2 separate regions of the Homo sapiens genome follow, and region 1 is linked to region 2. The links are contacts of gene promoters, found by promoter capture Hi-C in human tissues and cell types (Jung and others, 2019). All regions are on one chromosome and are shown on one strand. Each heading gives the region's core, a stretch centred on a gene start or on the middle of the fragment in contact. The rest is flanking DNA. Distances are from core to core; before and after follow the strand shown. Region 1 overlaps GNB1 (G protein subunit beta 1). Region 2 holds the start of CDK11B (cyclin dependent kinase 11B).

Region 1 (3,688 bases), core at 976-3,475, 230 kb before region 2:
GAAACCTCGTATCTACTAAAAATATTAAAATTAGCCGGCGTGGTGGTGGGCGCCTGTAATCCCAGCTACTCGGGAGGTTTAGGCACGGGAATCGCTTGAACCCGGGAGGCAGGGGTTGCGGTGAGCCGAGATTGTGCCACTGGGCGACAGAGTGAGACTGTGTCTCAAAAGAGTAAAAACCTCTGTAAATCCTTTTGATGCCCAATGACTTTGATTTCAAAGCTAGTATCATCTAGGTAGATTTATGTTGATCACTTGAGAAACAGAATTTGAAAAGTTAATTTATTTCTCAAAGGAGATGTTGTACTATCCTGCAAAAGTACCAGAGCTTTGTTCTCTTCCCTTTGCTTTGCTAAAAATTTCTGGGTCTTTTGGTTTATTTTATGTGTGTGTTGGTCCACTGGAAAAGTTGTAGCTTTGTAGCTAAAAACAGCTTTGATAAAAGGATGAAAAAGGTCTTCAGGGCATCTCTAGACTTCATCTACCATCAGTTGACTTTTTGTAGCTAATACTTTAATGAATAACATTGGTATTATTTTAGAAGTGCAGTGTTGGCATTTATTATAGTTTTGTCGTTGTTTTTCTCTGCCCGAAAGATTTGGCTCATGTTGGTCTCTAAATTGGATTACATTCTTACTGTCTGTGACTTTGGCTTTAGCATTAGTGGATTGGTAATAGATATTCTCAATTTTTAAATCTGGCTTGACCATATGGCAGGCCATGTTATTTTGAAACCCCTATTTAGTGTAAGTCTCACAAGACATGGAACAAAAATTTTTATAAAATTTTAAACTGGTTTGACCGGGCGTGGTGGCTCACACCTGTAATCCCAGCACTTTGGGAGGCCGAGTCAGGCGGATCATGAGGTCAGGAGATCGAGACCACCCTGGCTAACACGGTGAAACCCCTTCTCTACTAAAATTACTTCTCTACAAAAAATTAGCTGGGCGTGGTGCTGGGCACCTGTAATCCCAGCTACTCAGGAGGCTGAGGCAGGAGAATGGCAGGAACCCGGGAGGGGGAGCTTGCAGTGAGCCAAGATCGGCCACTGCACTCCAGCCTGGGCGACACAGCGAGACTCCGTCTCAAAAAATAAAAATAAAAAAAATTTTAAACTGGTTTACATTCTGATTTCAGGTTTGCATTTGTTAAGAGTGGTTGGAGAGATTATGAAGTAGGCAATTCAGTTAAGTGTTTGGTTTAGGAACACAGAATGAGGAGATAAAATAAATTTAAAATGGAAACTATCAGAAATTTATGAAACTGCAGTGTTCAACATTACTGAAAGAAAAAGCAGGGCCAACGTATATGGGAGTGAGTGTGTATGAAGAGAGAGAAATGCAACATCACATCAGCTGCTCTGGGAGAGGGACAGAGCACCACCTATTTCAAAGCTATGCATTTTGTTCTAGAACTTTGATTGAAGAAATAGAGACAATCTATAGACATTTGAGTTTGCTAGTGGATTAGTGGAATGCTGAAAGCTTTTTTTGTGAGACAGAGTCCCACTCAGCCACCCAGTCTGGAGTGCAGTGGCGCAATCTCGGCTCACTGCAACCACCATCTCACGGGTTCAAGTGATTCTCCAGTCTCAGCCTCCCGAGTAGCTGGGATTACAGGCACCCGCCGTCATGCCCGGATAATTTTTTAAAATTTTATTTTAGTAGAGATGGGGTTTCACCATGTTGGCCAGGCTGGTCTTGAACTCCTGACCTCCGGTGATCTGCCTGTCTGAGCCTCCCAAAGTTCTAGGATTACAGGCGTGAGCCACCGTGCCCTGCCGGAATGCTGAAAGCTTTTTTAAACCTTTTAGCCTCTTGTTCTTGTGTCAGTGCCTACCATTGGGTGCCATGGTAATCAGTGGAAATTACTCCTGGCTTTCAGTGGTAGAAAAGCTTTCTGTTTTATAGAGCAATGTTGCTTGCTTGCTTTTTTTTTTTTTTAAGATTAAGTGGGCCGGGCACGGTGGCTCACGCCTGTAATCCCAGCACTTTGGGAGGCCGACGTGGGCGGATCACGAGGTCAGGAGATTGAGACCATCCTGGCTAACACGGTGAAACCCCATTGCTACTAAAAATACCAAAAAAATTAGCTGGGTGTGGTGGCGGGCGCCTGTAGTCCCAGCTACTTGGGAGGCTGAGGCAGGAGAATGGCGTGAACCCGGGAGGCGGAGCTTGCAGTGAGCCGAGATCGTGCTACTGCACTCCAGCCTGGGTGACTGAGCGAGACTCCGTTTCACAAAAAAAAAAAAAAAAAAAAAGATTAAGTGGAAGTATTTCCTTATTTATGTCTTCTTAAATTAGAATTCTGAGAAAGACCCATTTTTTAAAAGCTTACTGATTTAAAAGACCAGATTAAGATTATCTAAGGTAATTCCTTTTTTCTTTCTTTTTTTTTTGAGATGGAGTTTCCTTCCTGTTGCCCAGGCTGGAGTGCAATGGCGCTGTCCTGGCTCACTGCAACTTCTGCCTCCCGGGTTCAAGTGATTCTCCTGCCTCAGCCTCCCAAGTAGCTGAGATTACAGGTGCCCGCCACCATGCCTGGCTAATTTTTGTAGTTTTAGTAGAGATGGGGTTTCACCATGTTGGCCAGGCTGGTCTCAAACTGCTGACCTCAAGTGATCCGCCCGCCTCCGCCTCCCAAAGTGCTGGGATTACAGGTGTGAGCCACCGTGCCCAGCTTAATTTTTAAGTTTATTCTGTTGAACCTATTTTGCCATAGATAAAATATTTTTATGATTTAATAATTCATTGCTCCAAACTTACTAATGCATTATATCAAGAGAGGACTTTATGTATTAATTCATTCACCTGTTAGAATTGGAATACTGGCCGGGCACGGTGGCTCATGCCTGTAATCCCAGCACTTTGGGAGGCCCAGGCGGGCAGATCACGATGTCAGGAGATCGAGACCAACCTGGCTAACACAGTGAAACCCTGTCTCTGCTAAAAATACAAAAAAATTAGCCGGGCGTGGTGGCAGGCACCTGTAGTCCCAGCTACTTGGGAGGCTGAGGCAGGAGAATGGTGTGAACCCGGGAGGCAGACCTCGCAGTGAGTGGAGATCGCGCCACTGCACTCCAGCCTGGGCGACAGAGCAAGACTCCGTCTCTCAAAAAAAAAAAAAGAATGGGAATACTAAGGGCATCAGTGGAATGTATTCTTGTTTACTGGTGGGTAATCATGTCTCCATGCATGTCTGTGTGCAGTCCTGTAGCACTTAGAAAATATATTCCCTATGTTGATTACAGACACTCAACTTCTGCCGAGTGTTGTAGTTAATAAAGCTTAAAAAATTCTGGGCTGGGTGTGGTGGCTCATGCCTGTAAACCCAACACTTTGGGAGGCCAAGGTGAGCGGATCACCTGAGGTTGGGAGTTCAAGACCAGCCTGACCAACATGGAGAAACCCTGTCTCTACTGAAAATACAAAATTAGCCCAGACGCGGTGGCTCACGCCTGTAATTCCAGCACTTTGGGAGGCCGAGGAGGGTGGATCAGCCTGGCCAACATGGAGAAACCCCATCTCTACTAAAAATACAAAAAATTACCCAGGCATGGTGATGCATGCCTGTAATTCCAGCTACTCGGGAGGCTGAGGTTGCAGTGAGCCGAGATCGTGCCATTGCACTCCAGCCTGGGCAACAAGAAGGAAACTCCATCTCAAAAAAAAAAAAAAAATTAGTCGGG
Region 2 (3,363 bases), core at 864-3,363:
CAACATGGCAAAATCCTGTCGCTACTAAAAATACAAAAGTTAGCCAGGTGTGGTGGCGCACGCCTATAATCCCAGCTACTCGGGAGGCTGAGGCAGGAGAATCACTTGTACCCAGGAGGCGGAGGCTGCAGTTACCCAAAATTGTGCCACTGCACTCCAGCCTGGGTGACACAGCGAGACTTTTTCTCAAAACAGAAAAAAACGTGCTGTGGCTCACGCCTGTAATCCCAACCCTTTGGGAGGCCAAGGCAGGCAGATCACAAGGTCATGAGATCAAGACCATCCTGGCTAATACAGTGAAACCCCATCTCAACTAAAAACACAAAAAAATTAGCCGGGCGTAGTGGTGGACGCCTGTAGTCCCAGCTACTCGGGAGGCTGAGGCTCGCAGGATAATGGCGTTGAACCCGGGAGGTGGGGCTTGCAGTGAGCCGAGATTGCGCCACTGCACTCCAGCCTGGGCGACAGAGCAAGACTCCGTCTCAAAAAAAAATAAAAATAAAAAAATAGGGAGATTTCCCCAGTTACCAAGAACTCAGGAAGCAACATTAAGAGCTTGGGGGAGGCCAGGCGCGGTGGCTCACGCCTGTAATCCCAGCACTTTGGGAGGCAGAGGCAGGCTGATCACGAGGTCAGGAGATTGAGACCATCCTGGCTAACACGGTAAAACCCCGTCTCTACCCAAAATAAAAAAAAAATTAGCCGGGCATGGTGGCAGGCGCCTGTAGTCACAGGTACTCAGGAGCCTAATGCGGGCGAATGGAGTGGAGGCGGGAGAATGGCGTGAACCCGGGTGGCGGAGCTTCCAGTGACCCGAGATCGCGCCACTGCACTCCAGCCTGGGCAACAGAGCGAGACTCCGTCTCAAAAAAATAAAAATAAAAAAAGAGCTTGGGTACACAAAGCAAGCAGCATTTCATTCCGGGATGAAAAAAATTCCGATACCCATCGCCCTTCTTGGGCCCTTGTCAGTTTCTTGCCACATCTTTCATTTTCCCATTTCAGGCCCAGTAAATGCGGATGTTTATCTTCCATTGTTTGTTTCCTGAGATTCAGATGTCTAAAGCATTTTTCTGTGACTTTTCAAGTCAAGAGGAAAACCTGACATATGGAAAGGGAATTAATTGCTCGTTTTATCCTCTTCTCCTGCAATGCTCTGAATCCATGGGTTTGGAGTGGGGCCCTGGGAGTTGGGGGAAGCACCATACCCAGTGAGTCTGCACTTTGAGGACCCACTGCCAGTGTCAGCTTCAAAATCACATTGTAAAAGGCCGGGCGCGGTGGCTCACGCCTGTAATCCCAGCACTTTAGGAGGACGAAGCGGGCGGATCACTTGAGGTCAGGAGTTCGAGACCAGCCTGGCCAATATGGCGAAACCTCGTCTCTACCAAAAATATAAAAATTAGCCGGGCGTGGTGGCGCGGGCCTGTGGTTCCAGCTACTCGGGAGGCTGAGGCAGGAAAATTCCTTGAACCCGGGAGGAGGCTGCAGTGAGCCAAGACCACGCCACTGCACTCCAACCTGGGCGGCAGAGCAAGGCTCCGACTCAAAAGTAAATACATGAATAAATAAAATAAAATCACATCGTAAGAGCTCTCCCTGCCCTGTTTCTGAGTAAGGTTCAGAGTTAAATTCCGAGATCGGCCTTTACAAGACACACAGACCTGAGGCGCCTCACGAGGTAACCAGCAGGTAAATGGAGCGCGCTCCACCCACCCGCCACTAGGGGTCCCAGCGGTCAAGGGGGTGGAATGCGGGCGTCCATCGCGAAGGCATTCTGCTCGCAAGCCTTGGCACAGGCGCGGGCTTCGCTACCGGAAAAGTCCCGGTAGGATTCCGGAAGCCGGCCACGCGTTCCGCGCAGGCGCAAACTGCTCCAAAAGTGGGCGTCGCTCCTCCGGAGTCCCGATTCCTGCGTCACAGCCCGCGCCGAAGTCGGAAGTGCGCTCACCGGGCTGTTTCTTCTGGCGTCCTGGACCTGAGCAAGCGCTGTTTTATGCGTTATCATCCCGCGCAGACACAGGAAGTGCCGCACAGAGCGAGCCCCTGTCGTTGTCTCGAGTTCTGGGCCGGAGGTCGGCTATTATATCATCATTACGCGCCAATACAGGAAGTGACGATACTTTTGGCGCGCGCCGGTTGCTGTTTCTTCTCTGGCTCCGGGACCGGCGGCGGCGGCGGCGGCAGCGGCGGCGGCGTAGGGGTGAGTTCCGACTGGGCGGACCAGGTGTGGGAGCGCGAGGAGAACTGCGCACCGAGGTCTTTCTTCCGAGCAGGCCTCGGAGCGGGGCGGACCCGGGCCCGGGGGCGAGCGACACCCTCGCTTCCGCGGACAGTCTCATCCCGCACGGAACTTTGGGTGGTGGAGGCGGCGGGTCCAAACGCTGTCTGGAGCCAACGTCTGCCAGGCTGAACCTCAAGTGTGCGGGACTGAACCCGAGGAAATAGCCCAGTGCCCGGGTCAGGTGGCCTTGTTCGCGAGCACATCTCGGAGCATCTCCCCGGTCTCAAGGTGCAGCTGTCCAGTGTGCTAGTGGCTTCACGTAGTCCAAGCGGTCTTTCTAGCAGATTCTGACAGTAAAAGCAGTGTTTGATGAGTGGCAGGTCCTGAGTTAAGAGCCTTTAAACGGATGATCTTTAATCCGCGATCGATACTATCACGTAGGTGTTGTTATTCTGGTTGTACGGAAGACTAAACTGAGGTGAATTACGTTACCCAAGACCATACAAGAATGACAGAAACGAGACTTGATTTCAAGCGGTCATTTTTCAGAACCCATCACTCTTTTTTGTCGCCCATGCTGCAGCGCAGTGGCTGTTCACAAGCGCACTTCAGCCTGGAACTCCTGGGCTCAATCGGTCTCCCATCTCAGCTTGCAGAGTATATGGGACTACAGGCGCTCGCCACCTTGCCTGGCTTACAACTTATCATTCTTGTTTTTTTTTCTTTTTTTTTTGAGACGGGGTCTTGCTGGAGTGCAGTGACGCGACCTCGGCTCACCGGAACCTCCGCCTTTCGGATTCAAGCGATTCTGCTGCCTCGGCCTCCCGAGTAGCTGGGATTACAGGCACCCGCCACCACGCCCAGCTAAGTTTTGTATTTTTAGTGGAGACAGGGTTTTCGCCGTGTTGGCCAGGCTGGTCTTGACCTCCTGACCTTGTGATCCACCCGCCTCAGCCTAGAGCTTACTTTTTTTTTTTTTTTTTTTTTTTTAACCAAGTCTTACTTTGTTATCTAGGCTGGAGTGCAGTGGCGCAGTCTTGGCTCATTGCAGCCTTGACCTCTCTGATTCAAGTGATCCTCCTGCCTCTAGCAGCCTCCTTCCTGTAGCTAGGAATACAGGCACGCGCCACCACACTGGG

The links. The method cuts DNA at HindIII sites, captures the fragments that hold promoters and counts their contacts. A contact is called where the count stands out against the background at its distance.
Region 1: a contact is called between a fragment that was not itself captured here and the fragment with the promoter of CDK11B in region 2, in 7 of the 25 tissues and cell types used here (adrenal gland, aorta, dorsolateral prefrontal cortex and 4 more).

What each region holds. Positions count from the first base shown.
Region 1 is chr1:1,884,124-1,887,811 of GRCh38, reverse strand. The region is part of intron 1 of GNB1 (G protein subunit beta 1); the gene reads left to right. Among named protein-coding and RNA genes, the nearest start is that of GNB1, 5.1 kb to the left of the region's middle. The HindIII fragment of the contact is 4,669 bases long and covers 1-3,688 here.
Region 2 is chr1:1,657,754-1,661,116 of GRCh38, reverse strand. CDK11B (cyclin dependent kinase 11B) reads left to right here and starts at 2,113. Exons shown (of 20, transcript NM_033486.3): 1 at 2,113-2,203. RefSeq lists enhancers at 1,727-2,006, 2,027-2,116, 1,548-2,270. The HindIII fragment of the contact is 36,520 bases long and covers 1-3,363 here.